4 separate regions of the Homo sapiens genome follow, and regions 2, 3 and 4 are each linked to region 1. The links are contacts of gene promoters, found by promoter capture Hi-C in blood cells and fetal thymus (Javierre and others, 2016). All regions are on one chromosome and are shown on one strand. Each heading gives the region's core, a stretch centred on a gene start or on the middle of the fragment in contact. The rest is flanking DNA. Distances are from core to core; before and after follow the strand shown.

Region 1 (5,345 bases), core at 2,255-4,754:
AGTGGGAGAAGAGGTATGATCTGTGGTTTCCTTAATACTTCCTTTAATACTTCCTTTCTTTCCTGGATCCAGCTTTTCTCAAAATATGGGTGAGGGAAGATGATTTAGGCGAAAAGGGCACATATTTCTTTATTTAATTTGGTCTAGCTGTAATCTTCTGTTTGTTACTGCTTTTCTGGTAAAGTGGACTGGGCATGGATGTTTTTCTCTGTAGGACAAGCAGCCCAAAGCTGGTCTCCCATGGGACATATGCAGAGTTCTTCAGTGGACCTGAAAGATACAGTTCCCTTAAGGAGAAGACCTAGTTCCCTTAAGAAGATCCAGCACTGGCTCAATTACTTCTGCTAATCCCAAGCCCAGCTCCTCCCACTGCCTCTTACTGATGGGGACTTATCTGCAGGAGACAGTCCTCAAGACAATCTTCATGGGGCTCAAGCTTGGGTACCCTCCAAAGGATCCCCTGGACCATGAGCAAATCACAGCTTCTCCCCCTGCTAAACTGCAGGAACACAGACTGCTCTACTACAGCAACATCTCAGTTGCTTCGCTCCATTCTTGAGAAGAAGATCAGCTCACTTCTTCCCCTAGTTGCTCCCACCAGAAGGCCAGGTTTCCTCTTCTAGCACATCACACAGGGTTTGCCCGTCACTCTTAGAGCCTCCTTTGACTTAGGTGGGAGGCCTCTTACTCTCCAACCCACAAGGCCCAAGACCCCTTGACTCCACTGCCGAGTCTTTCTTACAGATACTTAAAAAAGAGATAGGATTGGAATTTGAATGGAATTAGCTTAGTCCTGCTATAAATCCTAGGGAGGAGGGGTTGGCAATGACTGGCATTCACTTCACAGTGTGGGGAACTTAAGTAACTCCTTTTCTCTAACTCTGGACTCAAGACATCAATTTGGGGACAATGGAAAATGCCCCATTCTAATGCTGTTGGGCATTTGCTGACCTCCTCTCTGCAATTGTGTGGCCTCTTGAGAACTTCTGTTGAGACTTCTGGGTATTCCTAGACTTAAATTGTTACGTACTATTAATTATTGAAGTTTTGTCAGCAGACCAGTCTGACTTACCAATTCACAGTCATGATGTGAGTTTTTGTTTGTTTTCAAAGAGTTCTAAAAATGCAACTTGGCCCTATAGTCAAATTGGGCAACCACAATCTCCACCAATCATGAGGGGAACCTTGGAAGACTAGGAAATAATCCATCACCCCAATCTGAAAAGCAAGCCCAGGACACTGGCTTTCGCATTTGATTGATACTGAGCCACTATCAGACATTCCCTTGACATCATGACTCAATACACAGGTATGTGTATAAATGAAATCTTAGAATTTTAAAAATTATGTATTATTTATTATTTTTTTGAGGTAGAGTCTCATTCTGTCACCCAGGCTGCAATGCCATGGTGCAACAACAGCTCACTGCAGCCTTGACCTCCCAGGCTCAAACCATTCTCTCACCTCCACCTCCAGAGTAACTGGAACTGCAGGCATACTCAGCCACACCTGGCTAAGTTTTGATTTTTTGTAGGGATGGGGGGTCTCATTATGTTGCCCAGGCTGGTCTCAAACTCCTGGGCTCAAGTGACCCTCCCAGTTCAGCCTCCCAAAGTGCTGAGATTACAGGTGTGAGCCACTGTGCCCAGACTGAATTTTTAAAATTTTAAATAATTCAGTTAAAAGAAAAAAAAATAAAAACTATAAATAAAATAGTCAGCTTTTTTCCCCCACCTTCATTCCTATATTTCATGAGAGAAGGAAGGGTTTTTGAAGATGCTTAGATTGTGCTACTAAAAACAGGAGGCATTAAAGCATTTAAAACTAAATTGGTAAAGTTAAATATTACCATACGACCCAGCAATTCCACTCTTACGTCCATACCTAAAAGACCTGAAAACAGGCTCGGCGCGGTGGCTCACGCCTATAATCCCAGCACTTTGGGAGGCCAAGGTGGGCGGATCACCTGAGGTCGGGAGTTCGAGCCCAGCCTGACCAACATGGTGAAACCCCGTCTCTACTAAAAATACAGAAAACTTAGCCAGGCGTGGTGGTGGCACATGCCTGTAATCCCAGCTACTCCAGAGGCTGAGGCAGGAGAATTGCTTGAACCCATGAGGCGGAGCTTGCAGTGAGTTGAGATAGCGCCACTGCACTCCAGCCTGGGCAACAGAGCGAGACTCCATCTCAAAAAAAAAAAAGGAACTGAAAACAGACATCCAAATATTGTATGTGAATGTCCATAGCAGCATGGAAACAGCCCAAATGTCCACCACCAGCTGAAGAATGGATAAACAAAATGTGGTATGTCTATATCCATACAATGGAATTTTTTCAGCCCTAAAAAGTCCTGATAGGGCCGGGCAGGGTGGCTCATGCCTGTAATCCCAGCTACTCCGGAGGCTGAGGCAGGAGAATCGCTTGAACCCATGAGGTGGAGGTTGCGTTGAGCCTAGATGGCGCCATTGCATTCCAGCCTGGGCAATAAGAGCGAAACTCCATCTAAAGGGCCGGGCGTGGTGGCTCACGCCTGTAATCCCAGCACTTTGGAAGGCCGAGGCGGGCAGATCACGAGGTCAGGAGATCAAGACCATCCTGGCTAACACAGTGAAACAAACCCCGTCTCTACTAAAAATACAAAAAATTAGCCGGGCGTGGTGGCACGCGCCTGTAATCCCAGCTACTCGGGAGGCTAAGGCAGGAGAATCGCTTGAACCCGGGAGGTGGAGGTTGCAGAGAGCCGAGATCACGCCACTGCACTCCAGCTTGGGCGACAGAGCGCGACTCGGTCTCAAAAAAAAGAAAAGAAAAAAAAGAAAAGAAGTCCTGATAGATGTTACAACATGACTGCATCTTGAAAACATTAAGCAAAAGAAGCTAGACACAAAAGGTCATATACTGAATGATTCCATCAATAAAGAAATGCCCAGAATAGGTAAAGCTATCACAGAGTCAGAAAGTAGATTAGTGGCTGGCTGGGGTTGTGGGGAGAGGGGAACCAGAAGGAATGACTGCTAACTGGTTTGGGGATTTTCTTTTGGGGTTATGAAAATGTTTCTGAACTATATACAGAGGTGATGGTTGCACAACACTGTGAATGCATTAAACGCCACTGAATTGTGAGTTTTAAGATGGTTTATGTTAGGCAAGTTTTACTCAATAAAAATAAAAATAAACTGAATTGGTAGCTAAGATATTGAAACACGGTGTGGAATCGTTCTCACTCATTTCACGAACCCGTAGAAAGATGCTTGCGCTCAGGCCTCACAGACCGGTCCCAGCGCGTTGGTGGGACACAACTCGGATTTGCAGGCAAGCCCAGGGGCCGGCCCTTTGCGGACTTCCTGGGGACGCAGGACTCCTGCGCGGCGGGCTTGGAGGCGTGGCCAGGATGGGGGCGGGGCCAGGACGCGGCATCCAGGAGAGGACGCGGCGGGAGGCGGGCTTCGCCGGTTGCCAGGAGAACTCGCGACAACAAAAGACGCGGACGGCGGCTGCGCGGTGTGGCAGAGCGAAGCTGAGGAGTCCAGCGCTCGCCGACAGGGGCCTGGGCTGTCCCGAGCCGGTCAGTGCTCGGCGGGCCTGGCGGGCGGTGCGGGGAAGTGGGGCGCCCTCCCTTCGCGGTGCCCGCCCTCCAGCCCGCCGCGCCCGCCGCTCCCGCGCCCCCAGCCGGCCGTTGGGACTAGTAGGCTCCGGCTTGGGGTCGGGGCCGCCGCGGGTGGGTAGCGGAGGGTGGGCGGTTGGGGCGCCAGCTAGGCCTATGGGGGCGTCCGAGGGGTCTGGGGTCGGGGCTGGGAGCCGGCGAGCGACTAGAGGCAGAGCGCCCCTTCCGGAGGAAGTTGGGTCAGCCCTGAGGAGCGGGTCCCGGGGAACACCGATCGACCGGAACGCGGGACCCGGCCTTTCAGAGCGCACCCTGTGTTCGTCTCGTGTCGCTGCACGGCGTGAGGTGCGACGCGAGGGCCACCACCACCGAGCGCTTTGTTTTATCGCAGGCGTCTTTTTCCCACCGTAGAGGTTGAAACTTGGGCGCATTTCCCACCGTAGAGGTTGAAACTTGGGCGCATTTCCCACCGTAGAGGTTGAAACTTGGGCGCATTTCCTACCGTAGAGGTTGAACCTTGGGCACATTCAAGCCCGAGAGCTCCCTCCCTCGGAGGCAGGTGACTATAAAGAGCAAAGCGCCCAGATTCTTTCTTTGAAACACCTTTTAAGTAACACCTTTTAAGTCTCCAGTGTTGAAAATCCTTGTTGTTTGCCCTTCTTTACTCTTTTGTCGTCTTTACGCATTTGGGGCCTTTTCTGAGCTCCGTATGCGATTTACTGTCCATCTACTGGCAAGTTTTTTATGAAAATAATTAACAAACCACACATTTAAGACAACCACTGCTTTCTGGGAAATCAAGGGTACGGGATGGCAACGGTTTTTGGAGACACTCATTCCTGACCAGTGACATGACATGAGGGATTCAATATTTCTCTTGCCTTTGCTCAGATTTCAAAAACCCGTTGAGTATACTTAAATACGACCAATCAGATTTTGCTTTTTTTTAAATCATTTATTGGCAACATAATACGTATGTTTCTGATGACTATAATTGATCAGAATCTGAAGTATAAGTGCTATGGATTGTGTAAAAACTTTATTTCTTGTATATTGATGTTTTACAAGCCCTATGTTTGTGGACCATTACTATTGTTTGTTTGTTTTGTTTTGAGACAGGGTCTCGCTCTGTTACTCAGGCTGGAGTGCAGTGGCACACTGCAGCCTCAACCTCCCGGGCTCAAGCGATCCTCCAATCTCAGCCTCCCAAGTAGCTGGGACTACAGGTGCGTCACCACAGCCTGGCACATTCTTGTATTTTTAGTAGAGACAGGGTTTCACCATGTTGCCCAGGCTGGTCTGGAACTCGTGGGCTGAAGCGATCCACCTGCCTTGGCCTCCCAAAGTGCTGGGATTACAGGTGTGAACCACTGTGCCCGGCCCCATTATTATTTTTTTTAATGCTTAGAATAAGTTTCAGTTGCCTTTATAACCAAATTCTTTATAGATATTACCATTAAAAACCCCAAGAAATGAGGCTGGGCATCGTGGCTCACATTTGTTTTGTTTTGTTTTCAGGAGGGATCCTCTCGCTTCAGCCTTCTGAGTAGCTGGGATTACAGGCGCACGCCACCATGCCTGCCTAATTTTTGTATTTTTAGTAGAGACAGGGTTTCTCCATGTTGCCCAGGCTGGTCTCGAACTCCTGGGCTCAAGTGATCCACCCGCCCTGGCCTCCCAAAGTGCTGGGATTACAGATGTGAACCACCGTGCTGGGCCATGGTTTTTTTTTTTTCAAGGG
Region 2 (5,438 bases), core at 1,434-3,933, 2.4 Mb before region 1:
GGAAACAAAAATTCTTCCTTTTTACAGTAGTGAGAAGTTCAGAATCATTTCAGTCAGTAAACAGTCAAATGAGTTCCTTCAGGATCTCAGTTACATCTCTAATGCACAGTAACTGTTCAGCACGTTGGGATATATATTCACAAACAGTTCACTGGATTTTAGCACTCTTTGTTTGTATTCCACTTAACCCTTAATAATTGTTGTGAGTAGGTAAGCCATGCAGTTTAGTCCCCATGCTTTCTTCTGGTGGCGTTTATTGGGGGGCAAGAGAGACATGTTTTTGCTTGCTTGCCTTGGGATACGTTGTTTTGGGTGGTAGTGGTGGTGTTTTTAACTGTACAGCAATATTTTAAAACATGGTGCTCAAATTAGGTTACCATCTGGAATTTGAGAAGCTTTGTTTTTCAGTCCTTTTTTTCATTACTCAAAAATCAGTGATTATTAGGATAAGGGAGAAATGATTTTGACATTTTAAGAGCATAAATCTTAAAACCATTGTTCCTTTGTGAATTTAAGCCTTCACATCTAAAATTTCCAGTGCCAAGTAAAGAAAGAATGCTAATGTGCCAGAAAGGCCGTTCAAGAAATCACTCCATGGATGATTTGCCTTTCATTACATCAGTGTCAAAGTAGGCATTCAGCCAAGGAGTGCCACTAATTGCAGTCATTGGTTTTACAGCACTAGAGCAACTTTGAAAATGAAGAAGAAAAACTGCACCCTTAAACCCTGAGGGAGCATCTTAACAGAGAAGATGGATTTTCATTTAGGTTCTTGCTTTTCCTTTTAATACTTTCTATTCCTGGTCATCTCTTAAATCTAGAATTGCCTTAATATTTTGGGAATTGCCTTAATATTTTGTTAGGCTTCTGTTTAGATTTTTGCTACTAATATGATATCTTCTACAGAGTAAGACGGCGGCGAGATCAGGAAGATGCCCTGAACCAAAGATACCCTGAGAACAAGGAAAAAAGAAGCAAAGAGGACAAAGAAATTCACAACAAGTACACAGAAAGGGAGGTGTCAACAAAAGAAGATAAGCCCATACAGTGCACACCTCAGAAAGCCAAGCCAATGCGGGCAGCTGCTGACCTGGGGAGGGAGAAGATCCTCAGGCCACCAGTAGAAAAATGGAAGAGACAGGATGACAAAGACTTAAGAGAAAAACGTTGTTTTATTTGTGGAAGAGAAGGGCACATTAAAAAGGAATGCCCACAGTTTAAAGGCTCTTCAGGTATGGACACCTATCACACCTTGATGTTTGCTCTAACATCTCAAGGGAAATCTGCTTTTTAGAGCTCTTTACTATTTTAGTTATCTTTATTTCTTTATCAATATATTTACTCAAAAAAGATCTTGTTTTTAAGAAAGTAAAATCCCTTCCCCCTCCTTTAATGTTGATCCTCCATATATCTTATTCCTGGCTTTATTTAGAGTCTTATGAGAGTCATTTGGTGAACTTTTCTAAGATTATCAGTGAGGTGAAAGTGTAATCATCCCTGGTACCTGCACATGTAGCCTCAGTGACCAGAAAAGAAGCTGCAACTTGAGCTTTGCTACTTGATATATGTACTTGTGAAATCAAATCACAGGGGTGGCGGTAGCCAGAGTTATCTCAGGACACCATGCTCTGTGCACAGGTGAGCCACACACAGGCACATGCATAGAAAAGGGAACAGAAAGAAATAGGCTGCATAGTTAGCAGTGGGTGAATCTGCAGAGGGGAATTATGGAAGATTTTTTTCTGTAGATTTTGTCATTTTGATTTTCTACAAGTGAGCATGATTATTCTTATGACGAAGAAAATATCTATTAGCAGTCATTAACAACACCATCCACAAATCTGGCCCCTTTGAGTTGTTAAATACAAATTGGCCATTTTTGCTAAATGGGTGAAATGTCTATTGTGGGCACCTTTTAAACAGACTACTAACTATAAGGGTACCTTGTGTGTGTATAATAAGTAATGATTTACAAAGCAATTTACATTCTCACTTCTCAGAACTGTGCAAGTGATGAAATTTGATAAGCATAGAAAAGAAATATTTGGAAGTAATTTTTTTCTAATTAAAGTAGTCAATCCTGTCGCTATCCTCAGTTGTATATATATGTTTGTGGACAGCATAAAGTGTCAGCTGCTTTACAGTTTCCCTAAAATACTCCATGTGTATAGTTCTTGGAACAAGAATACCTCTCTTCTATTTTATTTTATCATATTCAGCAATATAGTGTATCTTTTTTTAAGACAGGAGATTTTTAGATCATACCCATTCTTTTTTAAAGGAGCTTTATATGAAAAGATCAAAATACTTAAAAATTTTTATCTATTATTTTTAGAGTAGGGTTTAAATGTTTATGAAAGATACAGCTTTAGCTGCTCACATGGGACATATACCAGAATAAAGTGATTTTCTTTTGTTGTTTTAAGAGGAAAATGTATTTAAAAGAAATTACAATAATAATAGTTGCTAACATTCATTGAGCATTCACTATGAGTTAGGCACTATTTTAAGTACTTTACATGGATAATTTCATTTAATTTTTACAACAGCTTCATTAAATACATTAATATCTGCTGTTTTACAGGTAAGGAAACTGTAAATAGTATAGATAACTTTTAAATAGTATTCCCAAAATTATTCCTAAAATTACTCGAGGCCTGTGTTGATTACTCATGACTGAAACATTATTACAGTCTTCCTCTTTGGTACAACAAAGTGGAGAATTTGCCCCAGCTTTGATGAATTTCTTTTTTCTCGCTAGCAGCAAGTTTTAAGTTGTGTACTAGGGAAGCTCTCACAACAGTTAGACCAATGATTTTGGCAGCCTGTGGGGACAGCAGCAACTCAAAAAGATGCGGGGCGGGTAGTCCGGGTGGCAGGGGAATTATCAAGCATAAGGAAGAGCACTTATCTAGAAATGTGGTCCCTTCAGAATGCAGTCTTGACACATTAAAGTTAGTAGTCATCATATTTTAAAAGTGAAATGACAGTGGAGGCATGGGGATAGATACAGGGAATTTCCTTTGGTGGCAGTTCAAAAATAATCAGCTGCTTCTTCCTCTCTCAAAATTATGCTGCTCTCTCTTGTTTCTTCAGATATATTGCTCCTTTGTCCACACAATATACTGAGTGGAGCTTCTGTCACACCAACAGACAGTCTCTCTGTGAAAGTTTGAAAACAGGGCTACTGCTTTCAATTTAAAGTAGGAACAAAAAGTGCTAATTTCTTTTTTAGGAATGTCTAAATCAGATTGTATGTTTGGATCGCCCTCACCTGTCCCATTGAAACCAACTGGTTTATTTGTTCAGGTAAACCTAGCTCAAACGGAGAAGGAGGCGTGTCTGTCATCTGTTCACTCAGGAGCTGCTCCCTGAGTGCTCTCAGCTCTGCACCATGTCCTTGCGCTGTGCTGGCAGTGCGGGCCCTCCTTCCTCTGGCTGACCTGCAGCACTCCTGTCTGTCCTGCGCGGGTGTGGTGCGTGGTGAGGCTTACTGGGCACCGGATGGCGGGGCCTTGTTTCAGAACTCCTGCCCATGGTCTTGCTTTTCAGTTAACTTGCAAAATTCTGCCACCCACATGCCTTATTTCAGCTCTCCTTGGATATGGTTTCGGTTTTAAGGCTGTTTCAGATGCTCTTCCTTTCGATTTTGTAAACCAGTCTATTTCATTTTTTAGGCAGTGCTTTTACATGAAGACAAAAAGAAACAAAAAACAACAATATTTTTGAGTCCCCAGTCAGGTATGTGGGTTTTAAAAAAAACAAATGTGTGTTATTTTATTTACTGCATACTTTACCACATGCCTTTTGAGACTTTTTCTCCAAATATGTGCTTTTAACAGGGATTGGACATCAGAATCACTTGGGGGAACTTTAAAACATATAGTTGCCCATCCTCTACCTTTATTTCCTAAAGCTAATTCTTCAGTGGTTAAGCATGGGCCTGTGTGTTTTGTAAATTCCAAGTGATGTTTATACCACCCATGAGTGGCAACCAGAGTCTTCAATTATTTGTTCCAGTCCCGTGCTTTTTGTTGCTGCTGTCTTGCCAGCAGTGTTTTCTCCTCCTGGAGAGTATTTGCCACACACAAAGTAAGGAAAAAAACTAATCTCTAGCCTGAACTCCACTGTTACCTCTCAGCTACTTCATTTATTCATTCTTTCAACAAATAGCTATCCAGCCTCTCCCCTCCCTTTCCAAGTTCAGGACACCAGCCTCAACACTGAAGATACAGCAGTGAACAAGCAAAGCCCCTTCTCTCATTTACTCTGCATCCTTTTCAGAAGAGGTAGACAATAAAGAGATACAGAAATAATATGTCATGTGGTGGCAAATGCTAGGAAGAAATAACAAAACAAGAAAAGGGAAAGAGAATGGTTGGCTAAGGAGGCAGCATCTCTGGTAAAGTAACATTTAAGCAAAGAATCAAATGAAACAAAGGGGCCAGTCGGGGGAAATTGGTGTTAGACTGGTAAACTCAGAGATGGAAACAGGTGTTGTCCTGCAGCATCACTGAGGCAGTGTGGCAGGAGTGGAACAGGATTGGAAACTCGAGAGACAGAAGAAATTTGAAAAAAAAAAAAAAGTGGAGCAGGCAGAAGGGTGAGTGAGTGGTAGAGGTGAAGTCAGAGGGTGGATAGATCTGGGTTATGAAGCGCCTTCAGCAGTGGTAGGTACCGTTTTTGTTGGTTTTTTTCTCCCTCAAAGTGAAATGAGAGACTATTGTAGGGTTTTGAGCCAAGGAGTGATATTATCTGAATTCTGTTTTAAAAGGTTCATTATGGCTCCTGTGTGGAGGCAGGGTAGCTACTTAGAAACCAAGCCATCTCAGCCTCCCGATTTGTAGAGATGTGGTCTCACTATGTTGCCCAGACTGGTCTTGAACTCCTGGCCTCATGTGATCCTCCCACCTTGGCCTCCCAAAATACTAAAATGATAGATATGAGCCGCCACACCTGGCCATAAGCTTCAGCCTTGAGCAGATACTTTCTAAACACTTTATATAGGGAAAAAAAACTAATTCTTGCGTAGCCAAGGTGTTCATTTTGCCGAGAATAACGTAGCATAGTGTTTACAATTACGTGGGTGTAATTTCTAGCTTTGTGATCCTGAGAGACTGCCTTATCCTCCATATGCCTCAGTTTTCTCATGTGTAAAAAGGGGGTAATAATAATACCTGACAGGGATGTTGAGAAATCCATGTAAAAGTACTTAGAACAGCGCCTGCATATAGTGAGAGCAGAGAAAAGGGAAAAGGTTCGTGGTGGTGATTGCATTGATGTTATTATTCCTTCAGGGTATCACCAAGTCTTCCAGTGCCAGCATTGTTCAGTTGAGAGAGAAATATAGATGCTAGGCATACACCTAGAAATAGCATTGACAGTAAGTTACGATTTCTGTAATTATCTTCTTAGTAAAAAACCTACATATTTATAAA
Region 3 (5,841 bases), core at 465-2,964, 2.4 Mb before region 1:
AACCAAACTTGTTTGGGGTTGGAGAACGGGGATTGAGGAGGTTAGATGGAGTTGTCCCTTGATCGGAAACCCAGCCTCTTTAATTACAGCTGCACCTTGGTCGGAAGCCCAGCCCCTCCGTAACCTAAGCGCTCAAAGCCGGTCTGTCCAGAATAGGGGTGGTGAAGGGACGGAAAATTGGAGTTGAGAAATGTAGTACTCCTTTCACGTAAAGTTTCGGTGTATAACACTTACAAGTAATTGCCAACTTAAAAAACAAAAGACTGTTTCGGTAGTTTAGTAATAATATTGGCTTGGGATGAGGTTTTCTTTGAAGAGAAACGCCTTGTTACAGAGGGAAAAGCCGACCATACTTGATATGAGTAATATTCTACTATGCTACAGTTCTGGAACCTATAGAGCTTCTCTTATTCACACATTTAATCTTCATGCTAAATAGTAAGTATTAATTTTCATGAAGAATATTAGAGGACCAAGCCTCCCAACCTCTAGGGTAAAGCACTGATTATTAAGAATGTGATAGAATTTTTATTTTAAAAAAATAGGGAGTTTCTTTCTTACAGGCTTTGGGGCATCTGTACGATAAATTGTTATTTTGTATACTTGTATGATATCTTGTTATATAGTTTGATATTTCCCCAAAATACCTTCTTTCAGGTGCAAAGTAAGAAAATTGAAGTCAAAGACCATGGGAGATACAGCAAAACCTTATTTCGTGAAGCGCACTAAAGACCGGGGGACTATGGATGATGATGACTTCAGAAGGGGTCACCCCCAACAAGATTATTTAATAATAGATGACCATGCTAAAGGCCATGGCAGTAAAATGGAAAAGGGCCTTCAAAAAAAGAAGATAACACCAGGGAACTATGGGAATACCCCCAGAAAAGGACCATGTGCTGTTTCCAGCAATCCATATGCATTTAAAAACCCAATCTACAGTCAACCCGCTTGGATGAATGACAGCCACAAAGATCAGAGTAAGAGATGGCTGTCTGATGAACATACTGGTAATTCAGACAACTGGAGAGAATTCAAACCTGGACCTAGAATTCCTGTTATAAACCGACAAAGAAAAGACTCCTTTCAAGAAAATGAAGATGGTTATAGGTGGCAAGACACAAGAGGCTGCAGAACTGTAAGACGACTGTTTCATAAAGACCTAACAAGCCTAGAAACCACGTCAGAAATGGAAGCAGGAAGTCCTGGTAATGTTTTCCAACTTGTCAGATCACAACCCCAGAGTCAGCAATGTTTTATTCTTTTTCATCCAAATGAGTTTTGTTATTTTCAGCAATTTAGTTTCAGTTTTTCACAGTTTCTGTTTTAAGAAATGGTCACTTAGTGTGATTATTTTAAGGATAGTAATCATGATATTTGAGCAGCTAAAACACATTTCATATGTTGATCCCTTTAAAAGTTTACTTTGCCCCAGGGCTCACTTTACGTCAGTAAACATGTTTTCTGTAACGTGTTTTTTACAGAAGAGGGTAGCTATATGCTCCAGGGGACCATATCGTAATTGCTCAGTGGTTTGTGTGTTTTCAAAATTGTGATTATAATTTTGTATTTGAATAATTAATGTGTTCATAATATAAATGACAGAATATAAAGCTTTTTTTAAAAAAAAAACTTATTTGTTGATGTAAAAACACAGTATACACTGCGTATATCTCCTGCCACAAGAGATATATCTTTTGGATGTAGTGTCAGTGTCCCGAGATGGATAATCTGAGATCTTTGTTTTTCAAAAGGGATCGTGACAAACAGGTTGAGAAACAAGTTTAGAAAGTCAGAAATAGATTCAAGCTTTGCTGTTTGGTTTCAGTAAGACCAAAACTAATTTCTCGGTGCCCTCACATGCTTGGTTAATTGCCCCAAAGGGATAATAAGGAGATAATATGTTTTTCTAAAAGTAAAAAGTAGATTTTATCCATGTGGCAACGATTTCTGCAAACAGGAAGGTTATTTTTATCTAATGGGAGATATATACCGAAATGAAATAAAGTCACAAATTGGATGGAAAAAATGAAACAATATCACAGTTGGAAACATGGACTTGTAAGTTTAGTGGCTGAAAGCGTTTTTTAGTGGTTGTATAGAATGTGTTTCAAACTGGCCAGCACTTTTAAATAAATTTTTTTAGTTTAAATGCATTCAGGGAATATGGACACTTTCTAGATCACCCGATGCCTTTTCTCTTCATGTTATCTCACAGTGGCCAGTTCATACACTGGTTACCTATAAGGTGTTTGAATTTGTGTCCCATGCGTATAGAATACTTAAAAGCCAAAAGGTCGTCTTTTATCTTTACAAGGTCTTAGGATAAAAATGAAAGTCTCAAGCACTTATTAATATTAAATGGGGGGAAATGTGCTACTTGATTTTTTTTCTTTTTTCACAGATACTTCTAGTTGTCAGATCTGTTTATTTATATTTTATTTTATTTTTTGAGACGGAGTCTCGCTCTGTCACCCAGGCTGGAGTACAGTGGCGCGATCTTGGCTCACTGCAACCTCTGCCTCCTGGGTTCAAGCGATTCTCCTGTCTCATCCCCCAAAGTAGCTGGGACTACAGGCACATGCCACCACATCAGGCTAATTTTTGTATTTTTAATAGAGACAGGGTTTCACCATGTTGGCCTGACTGGTCTCAAACTCCTAACCTCCAGTGATCCACCCACCTTGGCCTCCCAAAGTGCTGGGATTACAGGCGTGAGCCACCACATTCAGCCTGATTTTTTTTTTTTTTTTTTGAGACAGTCTCACTGTGTCACCCAGGCTGGAGGTGCAGTGATGTGACCTCCTCTCACTGTGGCCTCTGCCTCCCAGGATCAAGCGGTTCTCATGTCTCAGCCTCCCAAGTAGCTGGGACTACAGGTGCACACCACCATGCCCAGCTAATTTTTCTGTTTTTTAATAGAGATAGGGTTTCTCCCTGTTGGCCAGGCTGGTCTTGAACTCCTGACCTCAAGTGATCGACCTGCCTCTGCTTCCCAAAGTGCTGGGATTACAGGCGTGAACTACCGCGCCTGGCCCTCAGATATTTTTAAATTTGAAAATTAAGAGTATATATTAATATCAAGTAGCAGAAACAGAATGAAGTGTTATAAAGGCGTTAAGTAGTAGGGAGACATAAAACTTAAATCTTTAAGCTAGAAATAGCTTGAGGAATTATCTGATGCAGTACTCTGTTGTAATATATCAAAAATGGAATCACAGTTTTACAAATCAGGCAGCTGCAGCTCAGAGAGGTTAAATTTCCACAGACCTGTTTATGCAGCGCGGTAAATGAGGAAGTAGAACTAAAATTGGGGACTCTGCTACTCTGGCCATTAACTCAGCCTCGCTGGACCTGAAATCCTGACGGCGGAGCCGAATATTTCTTGATAATTTCTGGGCTTTTGATTTGTGTTTTTCTTTATTAAAAATTGTGTATATTTAAGTGTTTCTGTATTACTGTCCAGGTGGGATGTGGGTATTTAATTTTGTTACCTATAGTCTTGTAGAAGTTGATCTTGAAAACCATTTCATTTTATTATTATTATTCTCTTTTTTGAGATGGAGTCTCGCTCTGTAGCCCAGGCTGGAGTGCAGTGGTGCGATCTTGGTTCACTGCAACCTCCATCTCCCAGGTTCAAGCAATTCTCTTGCCTCAGCCTCCTGAGTGGCTGGGACTACAGGCACGTGCCACCACACCTAGCTAATTTTTGTATTTTTAGTAGAGTTGGGGTTTTAGCATGTTGGCCAGGGGTAGTCTCGATACCCTGACCTCATGATCTGCCTGCCTTGACGTCCCAAAGTGTTGGGATTACAGGTGTGAGCCACTGCACCCGGCTGAAAAGCATTTTAAAAAGAAAGTTTATAGATCAAAAATTTGCAACTAGACATTAAAAGGAACTGTTGGCTGACCACAAAAACTTTTATATGTTTTCTTATTTTATGTGTATTCTTATAAAAGCAACTAAAGAAGTTGCTTTTAAGTGTATTTGAATAGGAAATGCATTTTGCTATTTTTTTATTGGAGGTAATTCAAAAGTTTGCATGTTTTTGCTGTATGACATACAGGTATATGCTTTCACAGTTATTAAGTAAAGAATTATTCAGTTTCTATCCCTTGAAAATCTTCATATAGGAAGCATTAAGCTTCGGTATAACATTATTTAGTTTAGAGAGATTCAACTGAAAGTATAAACTAAAAAGGATCTCATTAAAGAGATCGAAATTTCTTTATCAAAATTGTGTCTTAATAAGGAAGGGTATTATTCAACAATGTGAGAAGATATAATGGAAATTATGGTGGAGTTGCTTTTTTCCCCCCCACATACGGTACTACCTTCTGTTTTTTTCAGCTCTACATTACTGCCCCTACTTTAGCCTTCAAATGTCCTAGATTGCCAGTTTAATGTATTTGGGACATTGCCATTAATGATCTTAGCTGGAAAGCATCCACTCAAATACACATGTCCTTTGTGAACCATATGCAAATAAAATATGGGAAACTTGGAATGCCGAATATAGAGAACTCTTATTACAATAAATCTGAGGTAAGCCAGGTAGTCTTCCTCCAAGTAATTATGAGAATTTTTCTTTTTTCTTTTTTTTTTTTGAGATGGAGTTTCACTCTTGTCGCCCAGGCTGGAGTGCAATGGCATGATCTCGGTTCACTGCAACCTCTGCCTCCCGAGTTCAAGCAATTCTCCTGCCTCAGCCTCCCGAGTAGCTGGGATTACAGGTGCCTGCCACCACGCCCAGCTAATTTTTGTATTTTTAGTAGAGACAGGGTTTCACCATGTTGGCCAGGATGGTCTCGAACTCCCGACCTCAGGTGATCCACCTGCCTCGGCCTCCCAAAATGCTGGGATTACAGGCATGAGCTGCCACGCCTGGCCAAGAATTTTTCATCAGTACCTAGCTTTACCCTCCAAGAGTCCCTCCGGTGAGATTTTGACAGTTTTTACCATGCATGCCTGTGAAAGTAGGTTTAGAAGGTTATATTGCCTTTCAGTGCTAGTCCACTCTAGATGTGAATGGGTATGTTCCAAGAAGGGATTTTAGTAATTTCTTTCCAGTTTTTATGTTGTTAGTTAGAAGGCTGAATTTCAGGATTTCATCCTTTTTTTGTTTGTTTGTTTTTTAGACAGAGTCTCACTCTGTCACCCAGGCTGGAGTGCAATGGCGCAATCATGACTCACCACAGCCTCACCTCCTGGGCTTAAGCAGTCCTTCCGTCTCAGCCTCCTGAGTAGCTGGGACCACAGGAGTGAGTCATCTTGCTGGCTGATTTTTTTCATTTTTGCTAGAGATGACATCTCACTATGTTGTCCAGGCTGGTCTTGAACTTCTGAGCTCAAGCAGTCCTCCCACCTTACCCTCCCAAAGTGCTGGGAATTACAGGCATGACCCACTGCACCTGGCCCCATCCATATTTTAATCTATATTTTCAATCCCTTTACTTTGATTTAGCCATGTGTTCTTGGAGAAGTTATTCTCTTGGATTCGCATTGTCCCCATCTGTACAATGGGGACAGTATTAGCAGGATTGCTGTAGGGATTAAATAAGGCAGTACATATAAAGTGCTTTACATCTGTTGCATAATAAGATACACCATCATGGTAGCTGCCATTATCTGACAGAATTTCTGCAGCCATCCACTTCTGTATAAAAGCAGTAGGAGTTGATTGAGGTCTTTGGAGGAAGAGAGAAGTTACTCTTTCTAGAAAATGACAGCAAATATGGTTATATGGAGAAACCTTTGTGACCAGAAGAGAGGAAGAGTTTAAAAAAGGAATTCGGTTCCCTATCACTTACTGGCTTGTGAACTAATAGGGGCTTTTCTAA
Region 4 (5,813 bases), core at 1,445-3,944, 2.4 Mb before region 1:
CCCCTCTAAGGGCTTCTCCTGTATTAACTCATTTAATCTTCACAATATCTGTAGGAGGGAGGATATGAGATCCCAAACCCCCAGGTAGTCAAAGATGAAGGCCAAGAAACAAACCCACCACACCACCACCTCTCTATGTCCCTCCCTCCCTCCCTTCCTCCCTCCCATCACTTTTTCAGTTTCTTTCTTTCGAGATGCAGTCTCGCTCTGTCACCCAGGCTGGGGTGCAGTGGCGCAATCTTGGCTCACTGCAACCTCCGCCTCCTGGGTAGCTGGGATTACAGGTGCCCGCAAACACGCCCGGCTAATTTTTGTATTTTTAGTAGAGACGGGGTTTCACCATGTTGGCCAGGCTGGTCTAGAACTCCTTATCTCAAGTAATCTGCCGGCCTCCGGCCTCCCAAAGTGCTGGGATTACACGTGTGAGCCACTGCGCCCGGCCCCCAGTTTCTTTTATTTTCTTTCTTTCTCTCTCTTTCTTTCTTCTTTCTATCTGTCTGTCTGTCTCTCTCTTCCTATCTTCCGTTCTTTCTTTTTTTTTTTGAGACAGAGTCTCACTCCGTTGCCCAGGCTGGGAGTGCAGTGGCACGATCTCAGCTCACTGCAACCTCCGCCTCCCAGGTTCAAGCGATTCTCCTGCCTCAGCCTCCTGAGTAGCTAGGATAACAGGTGTGCACCACCACACCCGGCTAATTTTTGTATTTTTAGCAGAGATGGGGTCTCACCATGTTGGCCAACCTGGTCTCGAACTCCTGACCTCAGGTGATCTCCCCGCCTCGGCCTCCCAAAGTGCTGGGATTACAGGCGTGAGCCACGCGCCCGGCCCCCAGTTTATGTGCAGATAAGGCTTAGGGGAAAAAAAAAAGCGTCCTCTTATTGTCAATGCGATTGCATTTCTGTAGCAGGAAGTCAGAACTACTTGATGGAATTTTGAACTATCCTTTCAGAAACTGCAGGAGATCGAAGATAAACTTGGCTTTAAAAAATGTTTCACTGATTAGTTCTTCCCACATTCAAACACTGCGAATCTGTCCTCCCCAGGACTGCTTCATAGACCCCTCCTGCCCTTTTTCCTTCACTTCTAGCACTTCAATGACAAATGCCACCTGTCTTGATGTCCTCCTCTCTTCATCTGCTAGCCCTGTCCTGCCAGTATCTCATTCTTCCCTGGCCCCTCTTTACCTGGCTTCCTGTGTATGCCTGGGTACCGCGCCTGTGCAGTGTCTGGTGCTCAGGAATACTGCATCAAAAGGCAGAATTAAGCCCCTGAGCAGCCAGGACAAGGTCTGACAACACGTTTTAAATCGAGTAATTGTTGCTCGCTATAAATGTGACTATTCACACTGCTGCCCAGTCACATTTTCAAGTAGGGTTGGTTCCCAGTTCAGCACCAGAATGAAAACTGCATTAGTCACCACCCTTCAGCATCCCCAGCAGTACAGCACGCTGGGGAGAAGGGTGGAGGGTGGCGATTATACAACTCTGCGGTAACGCCATGCTCTTAAGAACAGCCTAATTGGACCACAAAAGAAGAATGAAAATGGATGTAGATGTCTGGGCATCGGAACGATCACTCTGCATTTGAGAGCATAAGCTCCCAGTGCAGGGTTGACTTATGCGTCCTTAAGTGTCACCGCCTATGATGGTGTTTGTCACGGTGAGTATTAAAGCAGGGGGTGACGCTGCACCTTGCCCCGGGGGCAGGTGGTGAAGCTACGTGCATCCGGAGTCAGCAGGTCTGAGGTCATTCCTCGCCCCCTCCCGCCCGCTCCCCGACGTCACGCCGACTCCGTCCTCGGCGGTGAAGACATTCCTCCCGGGCCCTGCGCCCTGCAGCGTGGTAACCCCACTGCCGGAGACCGTGCGCAACCCAGCTGCTAGACCCCCGGCGTTGAGCGGCAAAACCCCGCCCCGAGCGGCTTGCCCCGCCCCCGGCTCGTCACTCATGCAACTCACCCAATGGTGGCGGCGGGGGGCGGGGCTAGGACTGAGGGCGCCGTGCGCCGAAGCTTGTGGCGTCAATGCGCCCGCCGTGTCCATGGAGAGAAGCTGAGGCGGCCGACCTTCGGCCCGAGGCACCGGGGCGCCGGGACGGCGAAGATGTCGGCTTCCTTAGTCCGGGCAACTGTCCGGGCTGTGAGCAAGAGGAAGCTGCAGCCCACCCGGGCAGCCCTCACCCTGGTGAGTGCTCGCGGCGCGCGGCGGGGCCCGTGACATTGCTCGTGTCCGCCCCGTGCAAGGGGAGGTCACGGCGGCCGGGAGTGGGGCCGCAGGGACGCGGACACGTCAGACCTCGGCGTCGCTCCGACCCGCCGCACAGCCTCGCCGCCTCCTTCGCCTCCGGCCCCTCTTTGCAACGATAAACAAGTCCCGGGCGGGGCTGCTCTCTTGGCCCCGGAAACTACGTTTCCCGTCAGGCCGCGCGGCAACCGCGTGCGGGCCGGAGGGGATCCCGGGGGTGGGCGTCCCCGGGGGCCGATCGCCTCCACACTCCTGCCGGCCTGCGCTGTTCGGCCGTTCCGGTTAAGCAGAGGCTGAACGTGCCCGGTGGCGGGGGTTCCCGGTGGTGGCCCGGAGTCCTAGCCTGGAGGTGCGTGGGGTGGGGAGGGACCAGGCTGTCCGAAGGACCGCTGTGTCGGGGCGACAGCGTTCGCAGAGGGCGAGCACAGCGACAACAAAGCCCCCGGCTCCTGCCGAGGTCACGGCCGCGGCGCGCAAAGCGTTACTTGCCGGTGTCCTGGGTGATTGAGGCCTTTGAAACTCCCTCTGTGCCTCTAGCAAGCCTAGGCTCTTAGGACAAAAGATGATTTCCCAGAGTGAGTTTACAGCCTTTTCTGGGTGAAAGGTCAAACACTCAGAGGGCACCAGAGTGCAACCATTGATTACTTAGAGAATTCACTGAGCTCAGTGTTCCGGCCGCACCGTTCAGTTTTTTAGTGGAAGGAAAATCCACATAACATAAAATTAGTCCTTTTAAAGGGTACAATTCAGTGCCATTTAAGACATTCACAGTGTCGTGCAACCATCACCTCTATCTAGTTCCAAAATACTTTCACCCCAAAAGAAAAATTTATGATCACGTTCCTACATACACTCCCCTTTTAGTGAAGGAGACGACTTTATGCAACCATTCGCTTAGAGACTGGGAAAAAAAACGATTTAAATTGACTCATCGATTCTGTTGCATCTAATGCCAAAAGGGCCTATTACCAGAAAATAAGTTTGTAGCAAAGTAGAAGAAAATTGTGATCAGGTGAGAGAATTTATTTTTATAATCAATTTTTTAGGCCTTTGATATTACCCTGATTATATATGGTACTACTAGTGTACTGATTATGTATCATTCTATATTACCTCTTTTCTGTAGGAGCAAGCTTATTTTCATACACCGTGGGATGTAGAATTAAACAAGGTTTTAAGAACTAGAGGGCACAACTCATTCTTTGTGTCTCTTTCAATCTCAGTAAGAATTATTCAGAATTCTTCCACTGGTAATGGTAGATCCAGGAAGAGCCAGAAGGTTCAGGAACAGTTTTTGCCTTTTCTTTTTTGCTTTTTAGCAACCCTATTAACTGGGTTTTTTGTTTTTTGTTTTTTGTTTGTTTGTTTGTTTTTGTTTGTTTTGTTTTTGGAGACAGGGTCTCACTCTATCTCCCAGGCTGTAGTTCAGTGGTGCAATCATGGCACACTGCAGCGTCAACCTCCTGGGCCCAAGCGATCCTCCCACCTCAGGCTCCCAAGTCGCTGGGACCACCGGTGTGCACCGTCATGCATGCACCTAGGGTCTCCCTGGGTTGCCCAGGCTGGTCTCGAACTCCTGGGCTCAAGCAGTCCACTGCCTCAGGCTCCCAGTGTGCAGGGATTACAGGTGTGAGCCACCATGCCTGGTCCCTGATGTCTTTCTCCATCACCATTTGACATGTTACCTCTTCCTTCAGAATTTCTTTTTTTTTTTTTTTTTTTTGAGACAGGGTTTCGCTGGGTTGCCCAGGCTGGAGTGCAGTGGCGTGATCTCAGCTCACTGCAGCCTCTGCCTACTGAGTTCAAGCAACTCTCTGCCTCAGCCTCCTGAGTAGCTGGGATTACAGACGCCCACCACCATGCCCAGCTTATTTATTTATTTATTTTTGTATTTTTAGTAGAGATGGGGTTTCACCATCTTCACCAGGCTGGTCTTGGACTCCTGACCTCGTGATCCACTCGTCTCAGCCTCCCAAAGTGCTGGGATCACAGGCATGAGCCACCGTGCCTTGCCCTTCCTTCAGAATTTCTATGTCAGTCCCTTTCTCTCCATTCCTAGTCATTCAGCAGACATTTATCAAGATCTGCTGTGTTTCAAGACAAATGAATGAGTTATACAGTTCCCAGCCTACGGGGCACAGTCGCAGGCCAAGCCTTTGCCACCTCTTACTAGGAGTAATAGCACTGCACATTCTCAGGCTTGGTCTCTCTCCACACTTGCTCCCCTCTGCTTCAGTACATGTTATCATAGCAGTTCTCAAGGTATCCATGTTGCCTGACTCAGCTGTTTTGATTAACTTGCAGGAGTCTACTGTCTGTACTCTGTTGTCCTACTTAAGTATGGCTGACTTTAGAAGCTTCTCAGAAGCTGTACCAGAGAGAAGGCACATCAATGCTGTTTTCCACACAGCCTGTGTTGGTGGGCTTGCAGTCATTTTAGTTCCAGCATTCGTGCCCTAGTCAGGACACTATGGCATGTATTGCTCTTTGTGCTTAGTTTATCATCAGCATGTATCGTCAAGTGCAAAAGTAGTGATGCCGTCAAAGGCCTAATGAATGGAGACAGATAAGAGAGCAAACAAAAGTATACGTAATTCAGTAAAACTGATTGGAAGAGGTAAATGTTACTTGGGTCTAATAAGTAGAGACAGATAAGAGCAAACACAAGTATACCTAATTCAGTAAAACTGATTGGAAGGGATAAATGTTACCTGGATATATAAATTTTGATGTTAGGAATTTGACATGTTGCAACATTTGAAAAGTGCTATATGTGTGGAGTCTACCAGATGTCAACAAAAGGCTAGGAAAAGTAACTGATAATATAACACAGTTCAATGCTGTCATTATCAGATTATCTACATCTTCCCTATTTCCCTACATATCTAGAAATTGACAAGTGGAATTGAACTTGCAGGAGCCAGATGTGATTAAAGAATCTGAAGAGTAAATAGTGCCCTGCTTGCAGACAGATTTATTTCCATCATTGTACAAGTCAGAGCAACTCTAATTTGTAGGACTGGGGTGGATCACAGCTGTGCATTAAAACTCAACCAAGTTCTATGAGAGAATGATGGTGCACAGCCACTATCATTCTTGATGAATTCATTGTGTACGGAAGGTGCCTTAGGGCTTAACTTTCTATTGGAGTCCAGTTGAGAAGCTAGGAAATGCTTAATGCTCAGTAAGGAACTGTGTGTTAGTTCATTGGACTAGAACCAGAAGTCCTTTTGAACAGTGACCAAGCACTAAGATTTCTATACGAAGGCAGTTTAGGAAATACTACACAAGAAGCACTGGAAGTAGCCTAGCAGTCTAACAGTGAAAGAACGGTTAAGTACGTGAGAGTAGATCCTGTTGGTGAAGGATGTAGTCATTGTAAATTATGGTTTTTTTTAAGTTTCAGCGTTATAAATCTTCATTCTTTGACTTATGCTGTGCAAATTATTTAATCTTTAATACCTAAATCACAATGGCAGGAATAAAAAGATGTTACGTTTAAACCATTAAACACTTAGAAGGTGCTCAGTAAATGGTGAATATATGTTTATTACCATGTATCAAATGAAAAA

The links. The method cuts DNA at HindIII sites, captures the fragments that hold promoters and counts their contacts. A CHiCAGO score of 5 or more calls a contact.
Region 2: a contact is called between a fragment that was not itself captured here and the fragment with the promoter of KIF27 in region 1, in 1 of 17 cell types (neutrophils). The highest score is 9.0, in neutrophils.
Region 3: a contact is called between a fragment that was not itself captured here and the fragment with the promoter of KIF27 in region 1, in 3 of 17 cell types (total B cells, activated CD4 T cells and non-activated CD4 T cells). The highest score is 8.5, in total B cells.
Region 4: a fragment that was not itself captured here is called in contact with the fragment with the promoter of KIF27 in region 1 in 5 of 17 cell types (total B cells, non-activated CD4 T cells, naive B cells and 2 more); the score reaches 8.3 in total B cells.

The regions. Positions count from the first base shown.
Region 1 is chr9:83,919,591-83,924,935 of GRCh38, reverse strand. It overlaps KIF27 (kinesin family member 27), which reads left to right and starts at 3,504. Exons shown (of 18, transcript NM_017576.4): 1 at 3,504-3,565. LOC105376335 (serine/arginine repetitive matrix protein 1-like) reads right to left here and starts at 4,035. Exons shown (of 3, transcript XM_011519284.2): 1 at 3,675-4,035; 2 at 3,238-3,582; 3 at 51-270. The coding sequence starts at 4,035. The coding sequence ends at 134. RefSeq lists enhancers at 2,104-2,608, 3,223-3,972 and silencers at 3,342-3,491, 3,522-3,901. The HindIII fragment of the contact is 5,103 bases long and covers 439-5,345 here.
Region 2 is chr9:86,297,070-86,302,507 of GRCh38, reverse strand. It overlaps TUT7 (terminal uridylyl transferase 7), which reads left to right. Exons shown (of 27, transcript NM_024617.4): 26 at 907-1,232. Among named protein-coding and RNA genes, the nearest start is that of ISCA1, 17 kb to the right of the region's middle. The HindIII fragment of the contact is 4,572 bases long and covers 398-4,969 here.
Region 3 is chr9:86,348,047-86,353,887 of GRCh38, reverse strand. TUT7 (terminal uridylyl transferase 7) reads left to right here. Exons shown (of 27, transcript NM_024617.4): 2 at 658-1,208. The coding sequence starts at 689. Among named protein-coding and RNA genes, the nearest start is that of TUT7, 3.4 kb to the left of the region's middle. The HindIII fragment of the contact is 195 bases long and covers 1,617-1,811 here.
Region 4 is chr9:86,278,746-86,284,558 of GRCh38, reverse strand. It overlaps ISCA1 (iron-sulfur cluster assembly 1), which reads left to right and starts at 2,021. Exons shown (of 4, transcript NM_030940.4): 1 at 2,021-2,181. The coding sequence starts at 2,101. LOC124902194 (a long non-coding RNA gene) reads left to right here and starts at 2,478. Exons shown (of 2, transcript XR_007061634.1): 1 at 2,478-2,590; 2 at 3,106-5,813. RefSeq lists enhancers at 1,621-1,900, 2,021-2,170 and a silencer at 2,341-2,640. The HindIII fragment of the contact is 1,365 bases long and covers 2,012-3,376 here.